Regions from separate parts of the Homo sapiens genome. Here region 2 is linked to region 1. The links are contacts of gene promoters, found by promoter capture Hi-C in blood cells and fetal thymus (Javierre and others, 2016). All regions are on one chromosome and are shown on one strand. The core of a region is centred on a gene start or on the middle of the fragment in contact, and the rest is flanking DNA. Distances in the headings are between cores, read along the strand shown.

The links. The method cuts DNA at HindIII sites, captures the fragments that hold promoters and counts their contacts. A CHiCAGO score of 5 or more calls a contact.
Region 2: a contact is called between a fragment that was not itself captured here and the fragment with the promoter of SARAF in region 1, in 1 of 17 cell types (total CD8 T cells). The highest score is 5.9, in total CD8 T cells.

Annotation. Positions count from the first base shown.
Region 1 is chr8:30,079,395-30,086,267 of GRCh38, forward strand. It overlaps SARAF (store-operated calcium entry associated regulatory factor), which reads right to left and starts at 3,670. Exons shown (of 6, transcript NM_016127.6): 1 at 3,453-3,670. The coding sequence starts at 3,555. RefSeq lists an enhancer at 3,234-3,583 and a silencer at 3,624-3,993. The HindIII fragment of the contact is 3,638 bases long and covers 328-3,965 here.
Region 2 is chr8:29,054,127-29,061,345 of GRCh38, forward strand. No RefSeq gene overlaps it. Among named protein-coding and RNA genes, the nearest start is that of HMBOX1, 170 kb to the left of the region's middle. RefSeq lists enhancers at 2,345-3,544, 6,842-6,981, 7,022-7,071, 7,132-7,181, 7,212-7,219. The HindIII fragment of the contact is 2,483 bases long and covers 2,412-4,894 here.

The sequences.
Region 1 (6,873 bases), core at 2,420-4,919:
TTCCACATGGGCTACAGATCTAAAATTTCCAAGAACTATATTCAAATAAACCATGCTACATTAAACACAAACTACTACCTCCTCATACATAAAAAATAAGACAATGAAAATGTTCAATGGTTTAGAAAAATCAGACTGTATTAATCAACTAAATAACAGAAATAATAAATTGAATTTATTGTAACAGAGTTGCAATAATGCAAAGAACACTGAACTAAGTTGGTGTCACTAACTGGCTGTGACTTTGGCCAAGGCATTTAATTTACCTGTGTAGAAGTTTCCTCACCTACAAAATTAAAATATTATCAACCTTGAAATTTGTTGTGAAGCTTAGATATAATTTATTATCTGGCTGAGTACTTGAAGCATAACAGGTGATCAGGTATGATAAATATTACTGAAAGTTTTAAGATGGAATAGCATTACCATAATCCTATAGCATCTTTCTTCCCTAGAGATTCTTAAGGTCCAAGAACAAAATTCTAATACCCACGCCCCACTAGTTAGATCAGTCAAGGGACACAGGAGCTCCCTGAACTCCAGACTCATAAATCAAAATCACGGCAGGTCTCAAACAAGATAAACAAAACCAAACTCCCCTAAACCTGATCATCCCACATTCTTCCACATCTCAGGAAATGGTTAACTCCATGCTTCTAGTTGCTCAAGCCAAAAACCTTGGACTTCTCATCTTCTCTCCTCTCACTCCTACATCTGATCCTTCAGAAGATCATGTTAGCTCCACCTTCCAAACAGGTGACAAGAGAATCCAGCTACTCTAACCAGCTCTCTACTGCTCCTGCCCTGGGCCAAGCGGTCACCACTCTAAGAACTTACTGTACAATATTAAAATAGATAGCAATATATATTAATTCACTGGTTTCCCTGCTTCCCTCCTACCCTCTTCGGTCTGTTTTCCACAGAGCAGCCCAAATGAGCCTTTAAAGATATAAGTAATTTCAGGTCATTTACTCCTCCTCCCCACTTCAGGTTTCCAGTCAAATGTCACCCTAACAGTGACTTCCCTGACCAATGTACGTTTTTTAAGTCTCCACTTCTGCCCGCACACCATGTCCTCCTTACGCTGTTTATCATACACGGTGCATACCAATTTTCACAATATAGCATGTTATTTACATGTTTATCTGTTTATTGTCTATTTCTCCCCAATAGAGGTAAAGTCCTTGGAGGCAAGACACTGTTTTGTTCACTGCTATATTCCCAACACCCGGAAGAGTAACTTAATATAAGATTACATTCAATAAGGAATTTTGAAAATTCATTGGTAATCTCTTTAGAATGGTGCTAATTTTTTTTTCCAGACAAATTACTGCTCAATGTGAGCTAAAGTAATGGCATCCAAGTCAAACAAAAGATAAATTAGGGAGCCGATTAATGCTTTAGTAAAGGACTTAATAAATAGTATGTCAATAAAGTATCTTCATTTAAAAAGTTCCTCAAAGTGCCGGGTGCGGTGGCTCACGCCTGTAATCCCAGCACTTTGGGAGGCCAAGGCGGGCGGATCACCTGAGGTTGGGAGTTCAAGACCAGCCTGACCAACATGGAGAAACCCTGTCTCTACTAAAAATACAAAATTTGCCGGGCATGGTGGCACATGCCTGTAATCCCAGCTACTCGGGAGGCTGAGGCAGGAAAATCGCTTGAACCCAGGAGGCAGAGGTTGCGGTGAGCCAAGATCGCGCCATTGCACTCTAGCCTGGGCGACAAGAGTGAAACTGTCTCAAAAAAACAAAACAAAACAAAAAAGTTCCTCAAAGTAAACTTTGAAGTAGAATTTACATAAAACAATTGAGTTTACTCTGCAAAATATTGTGGTGCTTTGTGTTCCAGAACAATAGTTTTACAGCGTAGATAAACCAGGAAGTGGTTCATCTTTAATTTAAATTTGGTTCTTCTTTCATAGTTTTTATAGTTCTTCTGGCTCTTCAACTGTAAACTTCCTTTATTAAATTTATTTACGAACTGATTCAAAGTTCAACAAATTAAAGTTTCATTCTAGGTTTTCACTTGTAATTCTGATCAAGTCTCCCACTCATACACAGCTTTCTAGAAATACAAAAGAAAAACGTACAGACATTTAAATACAACTTGGCTTTTTATTTTTGGTAATAAAATGTCCACATCAAATGACTACTCAACGTGATGTGCTTGCAAATAGCACCTTCTCTCTCATTTCAGCATGTAAGAATAGGCTATTATAGAAATAAACCTGTTGCTTAAATTCGACAATGCAGGCATTTCCAATCACCAAATCACAAAGGCAATATGCTTTCCATGCCATCTTTACTTCGCAAAGCAAAAATGATGTTGTTTTCATTTTTTTTTTTTTTTACAGAATTCCAAAGTAACAGCATGCGTCATTTATTACATGGAAAAAGTCAAAATCTGTATCTAAGTATATAGACATATACGTATTAATTGCACGGAATATTACTGATCCCATGAAAATTCTTTAGACAATTTTAATACTGTACTGACATAAAAGAACCTCTTTCCTAAAACCCACTTATCATGTACCATCACTAAAAAAAACCGAGAAAATTATTTTTTAAATTCTTCTCTACGGTGAAAGCCAATGGGAAGAGCTGGTGCCGCGCGATGTACATCACTGCAATCGTCAGATAAGAGGCAGCGGTTCTCATAAAGACGCGGTGGCTCACGCCTGTAATCCCAGCACTTTGGGAGGATGAAGGCGGGTGGATCACGAGGTCAGGAGGTCGAGACCAGCCTGGCCAACATAGTAAAACCCCGTCTCTACTAAAAATACAAAAAAATAGCCAGGCATGGTGGTGGGCACCCGTAATCTCAGCTACCGGTGAGGCCGAGGCAGGAGAATCTCTTGAACCCAGGAGGCGGAGGTTGCAGTGAGCCGAGATCACGTCATTGCAGTGCGGCCGGGGCGACAATGTGAGACTCCGACTCAAAAAAAAAAAAAAGAGTGCAATCTGCGATTCTGCTAACAGACCTGCGAGGTCTGCAGCCCTGTCCGCTAAGGGTGACTCAGAGACTGCCAGTGGCAGGCAACGGCCGGCGATAGCAACAGGCAGCCATGACAACAGCAGGCCACGATGACATCACACAGCCATAACAACAAAGCAGATGCGCAGGTGAGTGTCCAGCTCTCCAGTTATACTCAGAGATGAGAAAGACGACAATGGGCAAATTCCGGGAGTCCGGGGCAGGGAGAAAGGGGACCTTAAGGATCTCCAGCCGTCCCGCCCCGCCCACTCGAGCAGTCCCTACCCGCCTCCCAAGACGCCTGGGAAGAGCAGTGGAACCAGGGAGAGCACGAACAGCAAAGAGGTCAGACATGGGGAATCCGGGCACCCAGGCTCCGGGAAGACGGCGCACGGAAACGCAGGGGAGCCTGCACCGGCTGACGGCGGCGGAAAAGGGCGAACGAAGCGCCTGAGGGCCCTGGCAGCACTCACCAGGGTCGTTCCAGCCCAGGGCAGGGCCCGCGGTCAGCAGAAACAAATGCAAGCCGAGGAGCAAGCAGTACCCGGCCGCTCCCGGCCCGCAGGCTGCGGCCATGGCGCTCGATGAAGATGGCGCCGGGCTGCCAGACGCCTACGGGCCGAACCTGGGTGCGGTAGCGCGCGCGACGCTGCGCAGCTACACCGCTACCCCTGGCGGCGGCGAAGGAACGGCCCGACTGCAGAGCTGCAGCCGCAACGGATCCGTGCGCCAACCCTACGTCACTGCCGCTGCGGCCCGTGGGGCTCAGTGAGTGGCCGCCGTGGGCCCCCGCCCCTGGAGCACAGCGCGGCTTGGGGCGGGGCGAGGCGGTGTGGGCGGGGCCAAGGGCCTGGGGAGGCACGGCTGGAGGCGGGTTGGAGGCGTGGCGCCGCGGTGTGGGCGGGGCCGAGGGCCTGTCGCCGCCGCGCCCGCGGGCGGGGCGAGGGCAGCGCGCAGCTTTGTTGTGTCTCGTCTGAGATTCGGGAAGCTTCTGTGCGTAGGCGATGCAGTTTGAGAGGCTGAAAACGTCACGACGCGAAATCTAAGAAATGTAGTCAAATTATGTATTATTAAAACCTCAATAATTGTACCAAGGGTAGTTCTGTGCTTTATTCAGCTCTATGTGTTCAGCACTTAGCATAGCGCTTGGTACATGGTTAGTGTTCTATGACTGGTTGCTAAATACAGAGAAGATTCAAGCGAAAAGTAACAGGGAAATACATTGTCTGGTTTCAAGGCTCAGAACCTTTACATGGTTCCTTGCGCATGGAGGCCGGAAGACTATAAAATGTCAAGAGGAGAAAATATCGTCTGAATGAAGAACCAGCCAGAGAAAACAGTTCTCTGGGCTTTTGAGGTCTAGCAGGCTTGGGTTTCTTTCATTCATTCATTCATTCATTCATTCATTCATTCATTCAATGAATATATGTTGAATACCTAATACGCACCAGGCACTGTTTTAGGCATGGATGGTACAGACAAGATCCCTGTACTCATTGAAATAGAATAGGACAAACGACATACCAATTAAACAACAAAAATAATAGGTAATGATAGGTAATAACATTGATGAAAAACAGGGTGATATAATGGAGCCTGGGGACACAACTTCAGGGAGGGCCTTGCTGAGGAAGTGGTTTTTGAAGCTTGGGACCTGAATGATGAGAAAGAACTAGCCGTACAAAGATCAGGGGACTCATCTTCCCATCTGGGGAACAGTGGATGCAAAAGCCCTAACTTTGTGTTTCGAGGAAGAGTTATTTGGTCAGATCCTATAAAGAGTTCAGTCCCACAAGATGGCCCCAACTTCAGACATCAATCACAAGTCTCAGGTTGTGACCTATGCTTCTGACCAACCAGCTATAAATTAGGGTTTCCAGGCCGGGCGTGGTGGCTCATGCCTGTAATCCCAGCATTTTGGAAGGCCAAGGCAGGTGAATCGCCTGAGGTCAGGACTTTAAGACCAGCCTGGCCAGCATGGCAAAACCCCACCTCTACTAAAAATAGGAAAAATAGCTGGGCGTGGTGGTGCACACCTGTAATCCCAGCTATTTGGGAGGCTGAGGCAAGAGAATCGCTTGAACCTGGGAGGCGAAAGTTGCAGTGAGTCAAGACTGCCCCACTGCACCTGGACCATGGAGAGAGACTCCCTCTCAACAAATAAATTGGGGTTTTCATAACCCCCCATCTTGAGTTCCATAATTTGCTAGAATGGCTCACAGAACTCAAAAAAACACTTTATGTTTACCAGATTATTATATTGAGCACCTATTAGTACCTAACAGTACCTGCCAGGCACTGTTATCAGTATTGGGGATACAGCAGTGAATAAAACAAAATTTGGGGGACAAGAGGCAAACAAGGCCATAACTGAAGCAAAGTAAGTTAGGGGAAGAGTGGAATAAGAGATGGCAGAGCAGTGGGGCCTCGGCATGGAACCAACCAATGCTGGGACCAAGGACTGAAATAAGAGATAATAGAGAATCTATGCTCAACATGTTAAGTTTGAGGTGACTATTAGGCATCCAGGTAGACGTGTCAAATAAATAGATAAACTGTAAAAGTCTGAAGTTCAAAACTAAGGTAAATTTGGTAGTTATGTTGTAAATATAAAGATAGCATTTAATGTCATGATGCTATTGTTTGAATGTGTCCCCCAAAGCTCATGTGTTGGAAACTTATTCCCCAAAGCAATAGTGTTGAGAGGGGGGACTCTTAAGGGGTGATTAGGTTATGAGGGCAGAGCTCTTAATGCTATTATCACAGGAGTGGGTTAGTTATTGGGGAGTGGGTTCCCGATAAAAGGGATGAGTTCAGCTCCCTTTCTCTTTTGCCTACCACCGTGAAATGACACAGCAGGAAGCTCCCCACCAGATGCAGGCCCCTGGACCTAGGATTTCCCAGCCTCCAGAACCATAAGAAATAAATCTCTATACTTTATAAATTTCCCAGTCTCAGGTATTCTGTTATAGCAACACAAAATGAACTAAGACATGTGGGAAGAGACACAGTAACATGAGAGAATTGAGATACCACAAAAAAGGAGGCCCAGGCTATGGAAACACTAACATTTGAACCTCAAGCAGAAGATTCTAGAAAGAATCTGAGAAGTAACCTCTGGTGAAGAAGGAGGAAGAACTAGGACAATAGGATATGGTAATTGAGAGAAAGAAAGAATGGTCAACAGTGTCCACTGTTGCTGAAAGCTTGAAGCAAAATTTGGTCTCTGAATTTTGCAATGTAGAAATCACTAATTACCTTAACAAGAGAATGTTTGTTATTTTAGATTCCCACCATGTACCATGTACAGTTCTGGACAGTCATGAACAAAAGATGAAAGGTTGTTATAATAAACATTCTAGTGGGAGAGGTAGCCAACAAATCATGTCATTTCAAATAAATAAGTGCTTTGGGCCAGGCACGGTGGCTCACACCTGTAATCTCAGCACTCTGGGAAGCCGAGGCTCAGGATCACTTGAGACCAGGAGTTTGAGGCCAATCTGGGCAACATAGTAAGACCCCATCTCCACAAAAAATTGTTTTTAAAAAATTAGCCAGATGTGGCCAGGCACAGTGGCTCACGCCTGTAATCCCAGCACTTTGGGAGGCCGAGGTAGGCAGATCATGAAGTCAGGAGATCGAGACCATCTTGGCTAACACAGTGAAACCCCGTCTCTACTAAAAATACAAAAAATTAGCTGGGCATGGTGGCGGGTGCCTAAGTCCCAGCTACTCAGGAGGCTGAGGCAGGAGAATGGTGTGAACCCGAGAGGCGGAGCTTGCAGTGAGCCAAGATCGCACCACTGCACTCCAGCCTGGGCGAAAGAGTGAGACTCCGTCTCAAAAAAAAAAAAAAAATAGCCAGATGTGGTGGCATGTGCCTGTAGTCCCAGC
Region 2 (7,219 bases), core at 2,403-4,902, 1.0 Mb before region 1:
TATTTCTAGTGTCTTTAGGTAGTATATTTCTCTCTTAGGCTTTTTCAGGTTTTAGAGGTGGAATTAAAATAGAAACCCTAAACTTCCGTATTACTGAAGGGAAAGCAGCCAGGCTCTAAAAACTCACACTGTATGCTTCTTGGTTGTTCCGCCCCTCCCGTTGTACTTCACTCTCTCCTTCAGGCCCCAGGGGACTCCCGCAGGGGCTGTTCCTTCCTGTCGAGGAGGACTTTCAAAGGTCTTTTGAAGTGGGGTGTGGGGGAACTTGCCAACAGGTATTCATATAATTTGTTATTTCTTTAAAGACACCTTAATTGAATTACTATGGTCAGATGGGTAAACTTTCCAAACTTTAAAAGCACTGACACAGGGACCTTTTAAAATGGGTCATCTTGATGAGATCTCTGCCCATCTGTTGATAACCCTAACAGTGGATGAAGGCTGGGGAGGGCAACACCCTGCATTCTTATCTGAGCCCTTCAGTGCTATTCAGTTCCAAATGTTTTGATTTGTTTCAACAAAGTCTGTAATGTTGGAGTGCCCTTAGAGCAATTTTCTTCACAATCAAAATCACAATCCTTTAAGTGGTTAATAAATGTAGTTGCCTTCCACTCACTTATGACTCTGGACAGTCCCCACCCCTGTCACTCACAAGGGCAGTCTTCCCACCCCACCCCCATATTCACATTCCCATGGCCCATCACAGGAAGAAGGAACCTGGGGCAGAGACGAGGAAAATCATTAAGGCAGAGGTGTACACATCCAGTTCTCTAGTTCTTGGTAGATTTATGGTGGCAGCCAGTTCAGTGGTCACCACCACCTATGTTAGGTCCATGTATCCAGATATATTTTACCTCAAAGGAGATGACTGAAGAATTCACCAATATAGTTATTATTTCCTTTCTGCCTGTTTAACATTTGTCTTTAAGAAATATTGGCTTTAGAAACTTCTCCCTTGGATATCAACCATCAGGCACCAAGTACAAACAGACTCATTGAATCAAGAGTCTCCAGCCTCATCCTGTGAATAGCTCCTCTTCTGTTTCCCTCTGACTAGGCCTTCAGCTGACTTCTTTGCTGGAATTTTCTAATCTTGTGACAGCAGGGAAAAGCTGGATGTGGTCCATCTCTTAACACAGACACTCCTCCCTGTCTTGACCAGCTACGTATTCCACTGACCAGCCTCATCATCTCTGCCCTCAACAGTGGAAATGATCTCTTTCCCACAGATGTTCTCCCTCCCTCCTTCCTTCCCTTCCCCTTCCTACAAACGTGAACTCTTAAGTCTTTACTCTCTGGTCTTCAGAAGGGTTTGGTTACAAGCAGTCTTCCCATTTAATTTGTGGCTCTGCCTTTTAAAATTGTTTTTTGTCTTTTGTTGTTCAGAGAACGACCAGAGTATTTTCTCCCCAGTGTGTCCCAACAGATTCTTAGGCAATAATTTTTCTTGTTGATGATCCCGTGCTCAGTAGCACACTACATTGAAGAACCCTGGCCCTCACCATTGTGTGTTGGTTTCTGTGTTAATCTCTGTGATCTGAATCATGTCAGAGTGATGATAGATTTTGTCATTTTGTTGTGATTATTAGTAATGTTTTACTACTGTATTCATTGGGGCTGTGTTGAGACCAGCCAAATCCATTTATAGCTTTACTGAGCCGGATTGATTTGTCAGGATTTCCCAAGTGAAAGTTGGGCATATTGCCCAGCTCCTGCTGGTGGTATCTTTGGGGAGTGTGGGATGGGGTGGGGGGATGTCCTGGGGCAGGGGTGGGAATGACACATATAAGGCATTCCATTTTTTTTTTTTTTTTTTTTTTTTGCTTGTGCTTATTAAATAGCAAGGGTGTTTACTCAGGATTTGGGGATCAGTTGTAGCCATGTTGAATTTGGCAAACTGAGCTGTGTGCCCTGAAAGCCCTCTTTTTATTTCTTCATTTCCATATTGTCTGACTTACTTCACCTAGGAATACCTGAGTTATCCAGTCCAGTGTTCCCTGATGAGAGTGGAAGATTTTCCTGGAGAGGCAGCTGTGCATGGCCAGGTCATCTGTCAGGATGTTGTGGTGGTGTGTGATCAGAGCAGAGGGCCTTTCTTTTCCTGTACTGTGCTCTACTTCCTTATGCATGCTTGGTTTCAAAGATGACCGCCACTTTAAAAGAAAGATTTCCTCACAGCTCTCCAGAGAACTATCATACTAAGGTGATAGGAAAGGCTTCTCGGATACAAGCCAACAAGTCAGTTTTCTGATTACAGAAACTCCTCTCACAGGTTATGTTTGGAAAGGCTGTTCTCCATTCCACTTATAAATTGAAAGTGATAAGCTACTGTCTTGTGATCTTGCAGGGCCAGTGGTTGACTCATCTCTGAAAGGTAACTTCGTTCATATCTATGTATTTTCAAACCTGGAAGCTTGTAAATTGGAAGTTTCAGTATTAGCTTTATTATTCTTTCTTGGTGAGGAATAGAAATGGCAGCAAAAAGAAAGCCAACAATCTGAAAACTCCAGTCTCCTCTAACACTGGCTTTGTTTTAAATCAAGATGGGAAGAGATACATGAGGGGTGGGAGGGAAGATATGCCGGCTGCCCTTTCTTATCTCAGTGACGTAGATGCCTCGGGATTATAGGCACGCGGATCACTGAACCTCTTTTTTGTCATTCTTCCTATGACATTTGTGGCAGAACTTTTTAGTTGATTCTGTTCACATGAAATGTGACAAGCATTTTTACACCATGAGACAGTTTACTACCCACATGCCACACCCATTGTCTGTCTCATCAGCCAGCCCCGTAACTGCACCCAGAGGGGTGCAGCTGCAGGGGAGCTGTGCCTTTCTCCTCTCCTGACACTCCTTTCACGTGGCAGGTTTGCAGGTTGGTTGGCCCTGGTCTGGACAGCTGTGTCCGTGCCTGCTCGGCTGCCCTCCAGTTGGTCGGTGTGGCTGGCGTGGGCATGTACCCCCCGACTCGCACTTGAGAAGTCTTGGGATGCCGGCTCCCTCGACTCCATTTTCATTTTAAGTAAGAGTGGCTCTGTATAGCCATAATTAACTCTCAAATTCACATTGGTGTGCTGTGATCAAATGAAGGTTGGACTGAATCTTTTCAAACTGTAACCATGGTAATTGAGGGGGGTGGCATAGAATGAATATATAAAAATATAATGGCAATTGTTCTGAATGACTGAGTGTCCTCCTGACATGTAATTAGCTGTTTTAGCAGGATGTAGATTGGCATGGTCATAATTAAAAGAATTTCTGTCTTTTATGTGATTGGAAATGGCAGCGCTCCCATCCCCTGTTCCCTCTTAGCACTAATGCTCCCAAGAACATTTGGAACAGCAGCTCCATAAACTAAAATAATGACATGGTGCTCGTGTTCTCCCCTAAGTGAAACAGCAGAATTTGGAGTTGTTTCAGCTTCAAAATGGAAGCCTTTGATTATTGTTCCCCATTTGACTTCTAAGTTCTTTGAAACTTCACTCAACATCCAGTTCCAACTTGCTCCACCTCTGGCAGAAACCACAGTCAGGACCCCAGAAGAAGCCCCTCTGACCGGCCCCCACTGCATTCCAGCCCATGGTCTGGCCAGCTCCGGGCCCTTGCTTGCCTAACTCGAGGATGTTGCTGCTTGCTGGGCTCTCTGGGATCTTCAGATTTCCCTTGGTTGCTTGATATTTCCATTGCCGTCACTATCAGAAAGCATTTCCCAAACAGAAGTTTACAGAAAATTGAATCGAGGTTTCCTCATTGAATCCTAAGACTCAAAGCAGACAACATGACAGGACACATATAACTAACACAGGCTTTAAACAGGTGGAGGCGTGAATGGAGTACTATTCACGACATTCTAAAGCTACTGGAGCACGGGACACGTGTCTGTACGCTCCTCTCACACCCCTTACTCGGCAGCTGCCCCACTCCCGCCGTTGCCGTTGCCCTGAGTCTTCCCCACTGTTCTGCTGTGCCAGTGTGAGCATCTCCCCGGCACTCAAGTCCATGTTCTCTCCCTCCCGCTCTTCCTCCTGTCTCTTCCATGCTCCCTGTTGCACGGGACATCATGTGGGCTTGATGCCGTACACAGTCCCTGACCATGGCCCCCTACTCTTCTCCAGAAGTGTCACACTAGACAGGAGCTGCTGAGTCACCAACTCACCTTTCCCTAGAATGTGGGTTTGTTTTTTCTCCCCCATCACTTGCAGAGGTCTTTTTTCAATTATATGATCAAGAATGAGTCTACAAGAATACCAGCACCAGACATAGTGCCAAATGGCCTTTTGTAAGCTGTTTCGTGCCCTTGAGGCTCGCACTTGTGCTGGGTGAGCCCAGGACCGTTAGCCTTTTCTTTTCTAGGTCTGGACACTCCGGGGTTGGTTAGGCTAGCCACTGGGGAGAATACAGCTCTGGCCTTTTTTCATATTTTGCTGCTTCTCTTTGTACAGATCTTTCCCCCTCCACATACCAAAAGGAATCCTAACCTAGTTGAAATGCTAGTTGCAATTCAGTTTCATGAGAATGCTGAAGTAGGCTGCTGATTTAAAATTTTCCTCTTCCCTGAAAATACACACACCTAGAGAATTTAGGGAAAGGCTCTTAGGGCTTGGGAATCTTATCTTTTCATTCCCCACAAAATACCTACAAAGAAATGTCTAGTATTCCCTCAGTATTCCTCCTCGTATAGGCTCTGAAAGCAACCTCATTCCCACCCAGCCCTTGCACACCGGCATTCAAGATCCATGCATGCAGTTGTTGAAACTGTTTTCTTTGGGATCCTATCTTTATGACAACTGGAATGATTGTAGATTTATGACCTCAAAGAGTAGAGCATTCCTTTTCCTATTTTCCCAGCTGCTAAAATATGACTGTCTCCATTAGAATTTAGAATCCGTCTTAAGCTTAGAGATGGTAAGAGCTGACTGGATGAGTCTAATTCTATGATTTGTGAGACATGCATTAAAACCGTCAGCAGAACATTCTGATGATCCACCTACACTCAAAGAAAACACAATTAACACCACAGTTAAAACCTTCTAATGGAGCCCCTGTCTTAGGGATCAAGGTATTAGAGGTGCTGCTTCAGGGATGGTGCTACTTCAAAAGAACTGAAGTTGGAGAGACACCTCCCTTCCCAAATGCTTCTGCAGGCCACTCTGGTGATTCAGAAAACCCCAACCATATATTCCTTTACCAGCAGCGCCCACCCTTTTCCGTAACTCAGCTTACCAAAATCAGTGAAAATTGAGACAGTGCTTACCCATGAAATATGTGGTTTTTGAACAAAAACCCCAGAAGTTAGTTATTCTTATAGGAAACTAAAGATGCCACCATTGTAAATCATAATACTACAGAGACAAATGCACAGGTCTCCCAACCACCTCAAAGTCAATACAGCCCATGTTTTCTGAGCACGTACTGTGTGCTGGGCACCGTGCTGGACATGTGTGCTGCCTCATGACCCGACACCAAGCAAGTCACCTTGCCCTTGGCAAGGCAAGTCTCCCCTCATTTCTTTCATTTCAGTAGGACGTTCATCTTCAAAGAACAGACCACATAGGATGGTCTGCCCTCTCTGAACACTAACCTGGTTTGCTTTCTCACGCAGCAGTGCCAGGTAGCCTCCCAGGCGCACTGTGGCATCGCCCCCGCCTCTGTGAGCTGAACTCCCTCCGTGAGGGTCTGGACGTGAGGGCCCCTCCAGAGTCTTCCTCCCTGGTCAGTGATGATGACAGGAGTGCAGGGAGGTGCCGCAGTGGTTGACAGGGTGGGAAGCCTGTGTGGCCGAGGGGAACTTGAACTCCGGCACCCCTTGCCTGCAGTTAGCCAAGGCAGAGACCAGGAAACCCTCTTGCACTTCCCATCTTCTCTCTCCAGCTCTTGTAGCGCTACCCTGGCCGTTCCTTCGGGGCTCCTGCTGTGTTCAGGAGCATCTTGCTCAGCTGGCCCCTCCTCCTCTCTAGAAACCGGGGGTCTGGGGTTCTGGAATTAGATCAGTGTCTGCTCTGCCTCAGGCCTCCCTGCCTCCTCATGGGCCCTGACTGCCAAGAAATAACAGTTGCTGGAGACATATCTTGATTTGGGGTCAGCGTAAGAACTTTCTAGAACCCAGAATCCAGCAAAGGCATGAGCTCCTTTGAGGTAGAGGTCTGGTTCCTGTCCTGCCACATTTCACGTGGAACTGTGGTAACTTGTCAGGGACATTGAACAAGGGACATGGGTACCAAGCTGACCTGAGGACTCAGCTAACTAAAGTTCCACATTTCTTCCCTCCTTCCCTTGTCTACCTCTTTTCCGTCAAACGTAAGTGGTCCTCTAGGGGTTGGCTCTCTCATGGTCTTTCTCTTCTGATCTGCTCTGCCCCGTCGTGGGCATCTTGGAACCACCTCAGAAGCAAGGCCACAGCTGTGGACTGGTCCTCGTGAGAGTCTCCCTGGATCCTCTGTACCTGTAATAGGTACACAGTTACGTTATTATCCAACCTCCAATCCCCAAAAAGCCTCCTTAATTTGAAAGAGAAAAGGTATATGTGCCTTGCATTTTGTTATCGGTCCAGATTTTGCATCTGGTGGTGGCTGGGGTGCCATTGGGATTTTGGAATGGGAGCAGTTTGATTCCTCCCTCGGAAGGAACTCATGGCTCTCACAAACCAGTGTCTGTGGCAGTGACAAGTCACAGAATTTGTGTTTCAAGGCTTATTCCTTCTTCCCTTTAAGACTTTTTCAACTTCCTGTCACTTCGGGCTGAGTCTCAATTTCAGTCATGTTTTGTGGCTTCCTTTGAGCACAGAAACCTCTCCTTTTCTTCCGTTACTGGAACTAAGATCCCAGCGTAAACTCGTGAGAGTCATTTTTCCACGTCATCATTCGTTGGAGCTATTAAGCCCGAACACAGAATGACATTAGTGTTATACTAATGTAAGCAGCAGCCACTCTGGTGATGTTGCATTGAACTCTTTTGTTCTTAAACCAGATTCACGGCGGGCAGGCACAGAGTTAGAAGAGTGGGCTGCAGGAAGACACGTGCTCAGCGGTGGCTGCTTTCAAGCAGCATTGTTTTTTGCCTTGAAAACCACATTTCATTATGTTAGAATCGGTGATCCCCTTAATACTGCATCTCTGAAAATGGGCACCATGAAACCAAAACCAAAGTTCTGGATGTGGGGGAGTGGAGCTTTTCTTTCGAAGCACTGGGAGCTTGGGCAGGGCGTCCCGACTGCCCCTC